Linked DNA regions of Homo sapiens: region 1 is linked to region 2. The links are contacts of gene promoters, found by promoter capture Hi-C in blood cells and fetal thymus (Javierre and others, 2016). All regions are on one chromosome and are shown on one strand. The core of a region is centred on a gene start or on the middle of the fragment in contact, and the rest is flanking DNA. Distances in the headings are between cores, read along the strand shown. Region 1 holds the start of RPP30 (ribonuclease P/MRP subunit p30). Region 2 holds the start of SLC35G1 (solute carrier family 35 member G1).

Evidence for each region. Contacts are between HindIII fragments. The CHiCAGO score rates a contact against its expected background, and 5 or more counts as called.
Region 1: a fragment that was not itself captured here is called in contact with the fragment with the promoter of SLC35G1 in region 2 in 1 of 17 cell types (non-activated CD4 T cells); the score reaches 5.1 in non-activated CD4 T cells.

What each region holds. Positions count from the first base shown.
Region 1 is chr10:90,870,246-90,874,879 of GRCh38, reverse strand. RPP30 (ribonuclease P/MRP subunit p30) reads right to left here and starts at 2,906. Exons shown (of 11, transcript NM_006413.5): 1 at 2,812-2,906; 2 at 1-11. The coding sequence starts at 2,893. RefSeq lists enhancers at 2,596-2,655, 2,786-3,055, 2,774-3,068. The HindIII fragment of the contact is 1,124 bases long and covers 1,371-2,494 here.
Region 2 is chr10:93,892,014-93,896,558 of GRCh38, reverse strand. It overlaps SLC35G1 (solute carrier family 35 member G1), which reads right to left and starts at 2,581. Exons shown (of 3, transcript NM_001134658.3): 1 at 2,348-2,581. The coding sequence starts at 2,525. RefSeq lists silencers at 643-692, 2,178-2,607. The HindIII fragment of the contact is 3,349 bases long and covers 845-4,193 here.

The sequences.
Region 1 (4,634 bases), core at 683-3,182, 3.0 Mb after region 2:
TGAATAGCCAACTGAAAAAGAAAAATTGAACACTTTTGTTAAATATAACAACCTCTCCTTCCTGTAACACAGGTCCATCCTGAGTCTAGATGTCAAGAGTAGGAGGACATTTGAGGAGTGGTTATGAATGTGAACTCTAGTGTCAGTCTGCCTGATTTAAAGTCTATGCACTACCACTTACAAGTTACTTAACATGAAGTTTCAGGTTCCTCATCTGTCAAATGGTGAAAATAACAACACTTTCTTCATACACTGTCATGAAATTTAAATGAAATAATACACATGAGGTGTTTGAGAACAGTGCCTGGCACACAGGTCTTTGTTTAACCATTATGAATTATTATTAAAATGATACTAAAGACTCTTAACTTTGTGCTTCTCCTTTTCAAATGTCATTCTCTTTCATGACCCTATATTCATTTTTATCCCATCAAGTTCCTACTTTATCACTGTCACTTTTATTCCCGTTCATTTCTTTTGCTTTTTATCCTTCTACTTCCTTCAGAGACTCCTTTCCTAAGGAGAAATGGAGTGATAACTCCCTCACACCACTGCCCGCTTCCCATTTTAAGCTGCACACCATCGACAGACTGGGAGCTCCTTGAGGTCAAGGGCTTGCTTTATTATCCTCATCAGTTAGCACTGTTCTGGACATTTGGGCTACCAAAAAAAAATCTAAATCATGACTCCCATCTTTAATTTTTAAAAATACCAATGGGGATGAAAGGATATTAACATTAAAATACATATCAATGCCAAACTCTCAACAGTTTGTCCAACTTCCTTCTTCCCTTCCTCCCTCAAATATTTACTGAGCATCCATTACTTGACAAGCCCTAAACTGGTGTTGAGCATACAGGATAAATAATATAATCCTTCTCCACAAGAAATTTACAGCCTAGTCTGTTGGAGAACGAAGGCAAATAAGGCAATTAAGCAAGTCATTGTATATAAATACATGTTTTTTATAAGTAAGGATTCTATGGAAGTACATAGCACAGTGAAACCTGGTGTAGGGGTCACAAAAGGCTCCCTGAAGAAAGTTACCCTTAAAAACAAAAAAAAAATCACAAGTATGCCTGTACCTTGGGCTTCACCTTGCACCCAGTTAGTCAAATCAACCAGCCACACCTCCTCCCTATTCTTCTTTACCACACTCCCAAATCTGCTCTAAACTTCCTTGTTATACCCATTTAGGATATCCTTTTGGCTACTAAACAATGTCCCTACCGTTCTACAGAAATGTCAACTAGGATCTGTTTCTCCACAAAACTTTTTCCTAGACTACTCCTCATCTGGCAGCTTAGGAGTACTTACTTCCCCAATCAGGCTTTAGGGTATTTTAATTTACACAGTATATTTCTGAAGCTTATTATTGGTTTCTTGTATCACATCAGAAACTGAGAACCAGGGCTCTGTCTTTCCTATTCTTTGCAAATGTCCACTATTTAGTTCCAGACTCATCAAATAGCAGAGCAGTCCTTTGTCTTTGACTTGTAAGTTGAGGCAACTTTATATGCCATGAATTCCATTTAATTTACAAACAAATAACCACTAACAATGTACATATATTACCACACCTCTTCCAAGTGTATTTTAAACTGGGGGAAATTCTCTAAAGAAATCATTATTAACTTTTCTTTTTTGTATTAATTTTTTTAATGTGTTCAGTTTATTCCACAAGCATTAACTGAGTAACTGCCATGTACTGGTGCCTGCAGAGTGAACGTGTTAAGCACAGTAAATAAAAGGATAAGACATGGCAATTCTCTTAGGAAGCTCATGATTTATTCAAAAATGGGATGGCGTCAGGAAAAGCCTCATTGAGGAGGTAATAATTGCGACAAACTACACCTAGGAAAACTTATTTTACAGGATCAAAGAACATTAGCGCCAAATGGCCCAGATCATCATGTCTACTTTCGTCTTCGTGCTGATGAGCAAAGTACCACAGAGATAACGTTCATTTAGTGGCAGCAGTGGAAAGGGACAGTCATTTCGCCACGGATACTTCATAAAGAGAACAATAAAAAAGTGGTGTGATTCACTTTGCCAAGAAGTGGTTGTCATTTCTAGCACCACCTCTGAACAGTATCAGTAATCAGAACTCACAATGAGCTGAAAACTGTCTCTGAGGAGCAGATGTTACTACACGAACCTCTTGATTCTTTTTAATCTCTCTATTCCAACACTTTACAGTCTACGGAATACAGAACCCATGACTAACTCCAATAGTTAAAACAGGTTCTCGTCTCTCAAGGCTTTCGCTTCCCTTCGATTTGGGCCATGCTATCCTCCTCCTCCACCTCCACTCCGCTGTGTATGTCCTCTGCCCCCACCTACCCTCTCTCTGTCTAGATAGTATTGTTCCAACACTCCCACGTCCTCCTCCTTCTCCGAGCCTCCACGGCGCTTCCTGTCCGTGCCCCAAATTCCAGTATTTGTTTAGACACTGTCGTGAGAATCAGGAAGGGCTGATAGTAACTTAGAAGCTTAGAAGATTGTACCCTTGGAGTCCAGCTCCGGCTTCTGTCACCTATCAGCTGTAGGCCCCTATGCAAATCCCTCGCCCTCGTTAGGCCTCAGTTCCCTCATTGCAGGAAAGTAGCTGAACCAGATAACAACCCCCAGAACCTTCGAGTTTCCCGCGCTAGGAATCAGACCAACACCTCGGCGGGCATCAGCCTCCAGGGACATCCCAGAGACTCTGGGAGACCTGACCGAGACCCATCAGGAAATAGTTACTCCGGAGTGTGGCCCGATGGTCTGGGTGGCATGAGGTTGGCCAGGCGCGAAGCCGGGGCAACTCACGGTGAGCGGCTGTCTCCACAAGTCCGCGCAGAGCCTTCAGGTCAGAACCCGCTCGCAGGTCCAAATCTGCAAACACCGCCATGCTGAAGTCCCATGACCGTCCGCGCGCGCCAGTCTGCGCAGCCGCTGAGCCCGCCCCTCAGGCATGCTGGGAGCTGTAGTTAACCTGCGCAGTCCGTCTCTACCTCCAGTTGACTAGGGATTCGGAGAAACTTACTTGCTTTGCTTTCATCTACCACCAGAATTTGTGTGTTGAAATCAACAGCTTCATTTCAATCTCTCTTTGTCTTCTTCTGAACGACAATGTTTGGTTCCCCCTGGAGGGGTTCCAATTCCCAACTATTCAATACTCCTATAAAATAGTGTAGAAATGAATTCATTCAAAATGCACGCACACGGTATCTACTTAGTGCTGCTCATGAATCAGAGAATTCTGCTAATGGGTGAAAACGCTATTTAAAGAGTCTTAAAGAACACGTTTTCCTTTCCTTTCCCTAAAGTCCATTCCGTTGTTTACAATGGACTTACCGGGAAGAAGGCGTTTGTGTGTGACGGACTCTAGGACTTCAAAAGAGAACTACCCCAAGACGAGGGTCTTTTTACCCAATCAGAACTGTTGATGTCAAAGCCCGCTATTCTCTGTGGCAGTCAACATCTTCAACCACAAGATGGCGGGACTCGCTCTAGGACGAGCGGTTAGAGCCAACATTGATTTAGCCAAAGACATGTTTGAAAAGGGAGGTGCAAAATTGAGATGTTTTACACTTTTCCAGCTGAGAAATGTACAAGGTGACGCATATCCCACATATCTGATGTTTCCACTTTTTTCCGACTTAGTGTAAATGATCTATTGAGGATAATAATCAATTATACTACAAAAGTGTGACTATAGTTTACATCAGTGCTCTCAAACTACCTGTGATGAAGGATCAGTTTCTCCCTCCTTTTCCTCTACCCCCAAACTCTTCGCGAACCAGGATGTGGTCCTTTATGCATTACCAGTAAGCAGCCTGGCCTCATGGGAATCACAAATTTGACAACACTCGAACTGCCCTATACCTGGCTGAATAGAATCTGCTGATCAGGAGCTTGGATTATCAGGACAATGCCAAAGTACTGTAAACTTTCTAAACATCTTCACTTTTTGTTTGTTTGTTTGTTTTATTAACGTGCGCACAGCAACAACAATCACAGAATTAGAGGCTCGGTCATTTGACCTAGGGAGTATCCTAGTTGGTGGCCTGCTGAGTTTTCGTTTCGTTTTGTTTTGTTTTTAGAGAGAGTATCTCGTTATTGACCAGGATGGACTCTAACGCAAGCAATCCTCTCTCCTAGCTGTGATTACAGGAGCCCACCCACATGCTTCACCCATCAATTTCTCTTATTTACTGATCACAAACAGTTCACAGATAGTCTCTCGTCTATGGACCACACCTTAACTAGTACTCCTTTATGCGATTTTCTTGTCGGTCTCAGAAGGGAGGAAGGATCTGTTCCATGCAGTAGCATGCAATTCTCTTCTTGGTTAACTTTTGTAAAGAAGAGATATTTTGCCTTTTCCAGTACTTGATATTTCCTAAGTGGGAGTAGAAGAGAATATTACTTCTGCAAATAGAATAAGGTCATATGAAGCAAACGCTTTGTTTTTCATGAGAATATCTAGTGTTAATTTTGCAGGGTCACACAGGCATCATCACCTATGACCATAACAATCTAGATTGGTCAGAAATATGACCAATGTGTGGTGAAGGTGAATAAGGTGATAGTTCAATTATTTTTTCATTTTTAGTTGACACATTGTAATTATACATATTTATAGGGTA
Region 2 (4,545 bases), core at 1,332-3,831:
TTTCAATCCTGTCAATGGAGATGAGCATGACTAGCATAACTGAAAGAGGCATTTGTTTAGGTTCCATGTTCATATCTCACTGCAAGCATATCTAATAATTTGGTAACTCAAATTATTCAAATTAGGTAAGTGGCCATGGTGTAATTTCCTCACTTAGAAGAAAACTGAAAAATTACTCAGCTTCTCTATCCTCTGCTTTCAGCTGGTGATTCGCAATCCTGGTTGGGAATTAGAATCACCTGAGTAACACTTAAAACTTTAATTCCTGGGTGCAGTGGCTCATGCCTGTAATCCCAGCACCTTGGGAGGACAAGGTGGGAGGATCTCTTGAGCTCAAAAGTTTGAGACCACCCTGGGCAACACGGGGAAACCCCCTCATCAATGCAAAAAATATTTTTAAATTAGTCGGGTGTGGTGGTGTGTGCCTGTGGTCCCAGCTACTCAGGAGACTTAGATGAAAGGATCGAGTAAGCCCAGGAGGTTGAGGTCGCCGTGAGCTGTGATCACGCCAATGCACCACAGCCTTGGTGACAGAGTAAGACCCTATCTCCAAAAAAAAAAAAAATTAATTCTCAAGCCCCATCTCAGACCCACCGAAATAGAATCTCTGTAACTCTAAAAGGCTCCACTAGTTTGAGAACCACTGCTACACTCGATCACTAACTCCCTCCAGAGGATGTGAGGCACAGGCCTAAGAAACTACTTCTCCTTGCTTCAGTGTAAGACCCACACTGTCCCTGAAGAAAGTAAGGAGATGTCTTGGGACAGCTGTATGTGTCTGTTAAGGTCATCCAAGAATGTAAGACATATGGGTAACAGTTCCAACCAGAACTTGAAAAAAGCTTTGTTGAGATAAGCAGTTAGAACAAGAGGTGTCACAAAGTTCAATGACAACAGTAAAGTGTTTTTATGTCAATTTTCTTTCCAAAATATTATCTTGTCACCTTACAATAACTAAGTCTTACTGGTAGAAACTTTCTTTGAAGTTAAACACCCACAAGATTCTTAGATACACTCACGTAAGTTTCTCATCTTGCCATGAGCTGCCTGGGAGTAGAGAATTCCTCTTCCATTCACAAAAAGGGGAAACTTTAAGAGTTTGCATGGACTGATTCGGCATGCCACCAGAAGGACATTCACCCAGAGGGTGATAGGTGAGAAACTGACCTTTTCAAAGGCTGCTTATCTGTTCAATTCAGCCTGGCATAACCCCTGTTCTAGAGGCACCAGCCCATTTATAAATGATCACAAGTCTGATCATTTCGGTTTGCCTTTAGGACAGAAATGGAGCAAGAATAGTCTTCCTAGAGTCTGTCTCTCTAACTTGGGGAAAGTGCACAAAGGGAGGAGGGGAAAGCGCAGTGAGAGGAGAGGAACAGAAATCCAGGGTCACACTTAGGGGAGGTGACCCAGAGGACAAGGTGGTGCAGGCCGTGTAACTGTCCTAAAAAGAGATCTGCCTATTCCCTTCTTCTTGCAGGAAGCTGCTCCTGGTAGATGGTCGACTTCTAAGAGGAATGTGCTTGAAGCAGCACTTGTGGCCAGTGGAAAGGGCCCTAGGCCGGTATATGGCAAGCTGGGATCCTAACCCTGGTGCTCCCTGGACATGCGCCCCATCTCACCCCCACGTTCCACATCTTGGAGGAGACAAAGCAAACGAAAACCCAAAAGCCCTCACCTTCCTGGGCCTCACTTTGCTCATGTGTCGAAGGAGGGGGACTGAACATAAAGTGTTCTTCACGAGGGGTCCCTGACTTTGGGGACGGGGCTGTGAGCTTCTTAACAAGATATGCCTTGTTCTGCATCGTTTGCTAAAAAGTCCTTGTATCCCTAAAGGTTAAAAACTAGCGGTCCCACTTATCTCTGCCTTTCCAAGATTCTAAAACTCTAGGACGAACATTTTTTCTAGACTCGATGCTTTTCAGCTTCCTTTTCGGAGAGAACCCTTAACCACCGGGATCACTTTTCAGGGTCAGCTTCCTCGCAACGTCGCCCCACTGCAGGATGGCCTCTCTCGCTGACCCCCCACCTACGACCTAGGGGAGGGTACGCCAAACTGCAGTCTGACTCCACAGCCCTGCCCCGACACTAATTACAGGAGCAGCCTCGGAATCCCAAAAGGACTGCTAACAATCGGAAAGTTTCTTCCGTCTTAGCGCCGGCTGGGGCGCCGGGAATTCCGCTTTGCAGCCCCCCAGCTGACAGCTCGAGGGGTTTCCCGAGCCCCGGGCAGGGTGGGGACGGAGGCGCGGCGGGCACTGTGCCCGGGTTGCGGGGACCCCAACCCGCCGGCGCCCGCTCGGGACCCCCGAGCGAGACCAGAGCCCGATCCACACCGCGCACTCACCCGGCTCGGTGCGGGAGCAACACGGCGAGGAAAGGCAGAGCCAGCACCTACCGCGGTCTGGCGCCCCAGCTGCCTCGGCGGCCGCCGGCTCCTCAGTGGCGCCCGGGGGTGCATCGTCCGTTAGCGGCAGCCCGGGCTCCTGGAGCTCCGCGACCCCGGTGCTGTCCTGAGGCCGCATCTCGCGGCACGCGCTCTACCAGCGGCCGGTGCCGTCTGGCGCCAGCAGCAGCGCCTGGGCTGCCGCTCTTCCGGCGGGCGATGGCGCCCATGCGCATGCGCGCCCGGCCCACCCGCACCCTCCCCCAAGGAGACCGCGCGCGTCCTCCGCTGGCCTCTTAACCTGGGGAGACCCGCTGCCTCCCTGGTCGGGCTGTGGTGCCCACAGCTGGCTCTAAGGCGTCCAACCCTCTGCTGCGTTCAGGCTACATGGCCCAGCTGCTTGGAGCCATCCTTGGCAAGTCACACTGAACCTGTCTGTCATGGCACAGACAAGGAGGGGCGCTGGGTTCCCAAGCCCTGGCGCCCGGGGGTCCTGTGGCCTCCTTTTCAGGAGGCTCAAAGAGTGGGCGTTTTTTCATTGATGTAACCACGCATTCAGCACCTCTGTGATACCCCGAAGATTTTACAAAGCACCATGCTTGTCTTTAAATGGTCTAGGGTTTTTATGTTTTGTTTTGTTTTGTTTTGTTTTGTTTTGTTTCCCGTGTTGTCCCTTTGCTGCTTACCAAGGAGGGTAGAATTTTGCTGTTTTGGGAAATATTTTTAAGAAAGAATTAGTGTGTAATTATAGGAAAATATATCTATAAGACTGACCAGAACCCATTTATATGTTCTTTGCATTCTTTGCAAGAGTAGGCATGCATTATTGATCTTTGGTTTTCTTTTCTTAAATGGAAATATCCTAATTTGGCCAGATGTAAGATTCAAGTAATCTGATGTAATTAGACCTGGTAAAATATATTCTTTGGCCCAGGATTCACTAACAGCCTCTTTTTGTTTAGCTAATAATTCTTCTTCCATCTCTTTGCTTGCTTTATATGTGGAAGAACAGTCTCTGTGCAAGGATGAACGTATCTAAACTTCTAAGTCCAGTGCCAAGCAGATCACCAAAGGAGAGTGAAGTTTGCCTTTACTCAGACATTTGCACATAGTGATCCACAGCTGAAACAGTTTTAGACTTGAAGTCAGGAATCCTAGGTTCTGGCCCTGAGTGTGTGACCTCAGTCACCACTGTACCCCTCGAAGCCTTGATTACCTCCTTTATTTAATAGCGATCAAGTATTTCCCTTCCTGCTTCGCAGAGTAGTTATGTAAATAAAATGCAATGATGTGGGCAAAAGCATAATATCACCTGGAAAACACTATGTTAGAAAATCAAAGTGTGTTTTAAACTAGGGTCAGCATATAATTTATCCTCCAAACTGGACCTTTTTTTTTTTAAGAGTAAAAGGAGGAGCTCTTTTAAAAGTTACACAAGGGAATAGGCATAAACTGGGACTGTCCTAGGCAAACTGAGACAAATGGTCACCTGAATTCTAACTTGATTAACACATACTTTTGCCTTGTCTTAAAAGAGAATTTAAGGCTGGGCACGGTGGCTCAGCCTACCATCCTAGCACTTCGGGAGGCTGAGGTGGGAGGATTGCTTGAGCTTAGGAGTTTGAGACCAGCCTGGGCAACATAGACCTTGTCTCTATAAAAAAAATAATAATACTTTTAAAAGAATTTAAGGCTACTTACAAAAATATCTGTAACAGGTTTTGTTGTCGTTGTTTTAGATAGGGAAATTTCAGGGAAGGATGGTAAGGGTGGTAGATCATGATTATAAAGCAAGAACCAGGAAGCTTCCTCAAATATCTGGGAAGTCAAGTGCAGTTTCACAATTGCATTCTAAGATTTCGATATGGAAAGGGTTTGAAGAGTCCCCTCCTCTTAAATGGTGAAGATTATGGCTAGGAAGTGTGGTAAAGAAGAAAGAAGTGTGATGATTTGAGAAGGAAGTACCCTGACTGCTCCACTTTCAACACTTTCAACACCATCCTCGAAAAGGGAGAAGAAGAAGAGAAGAAAATGGGTACTACACCAGTTATTAAAGGTGGTGAGATGATTTCATACCTGCTGTTTATTCCCTTTAACTTCCTTCCCCTCCACTGCTGACCTTCATATATAAATGGTATCAGTTATATTCATTCTCCCAT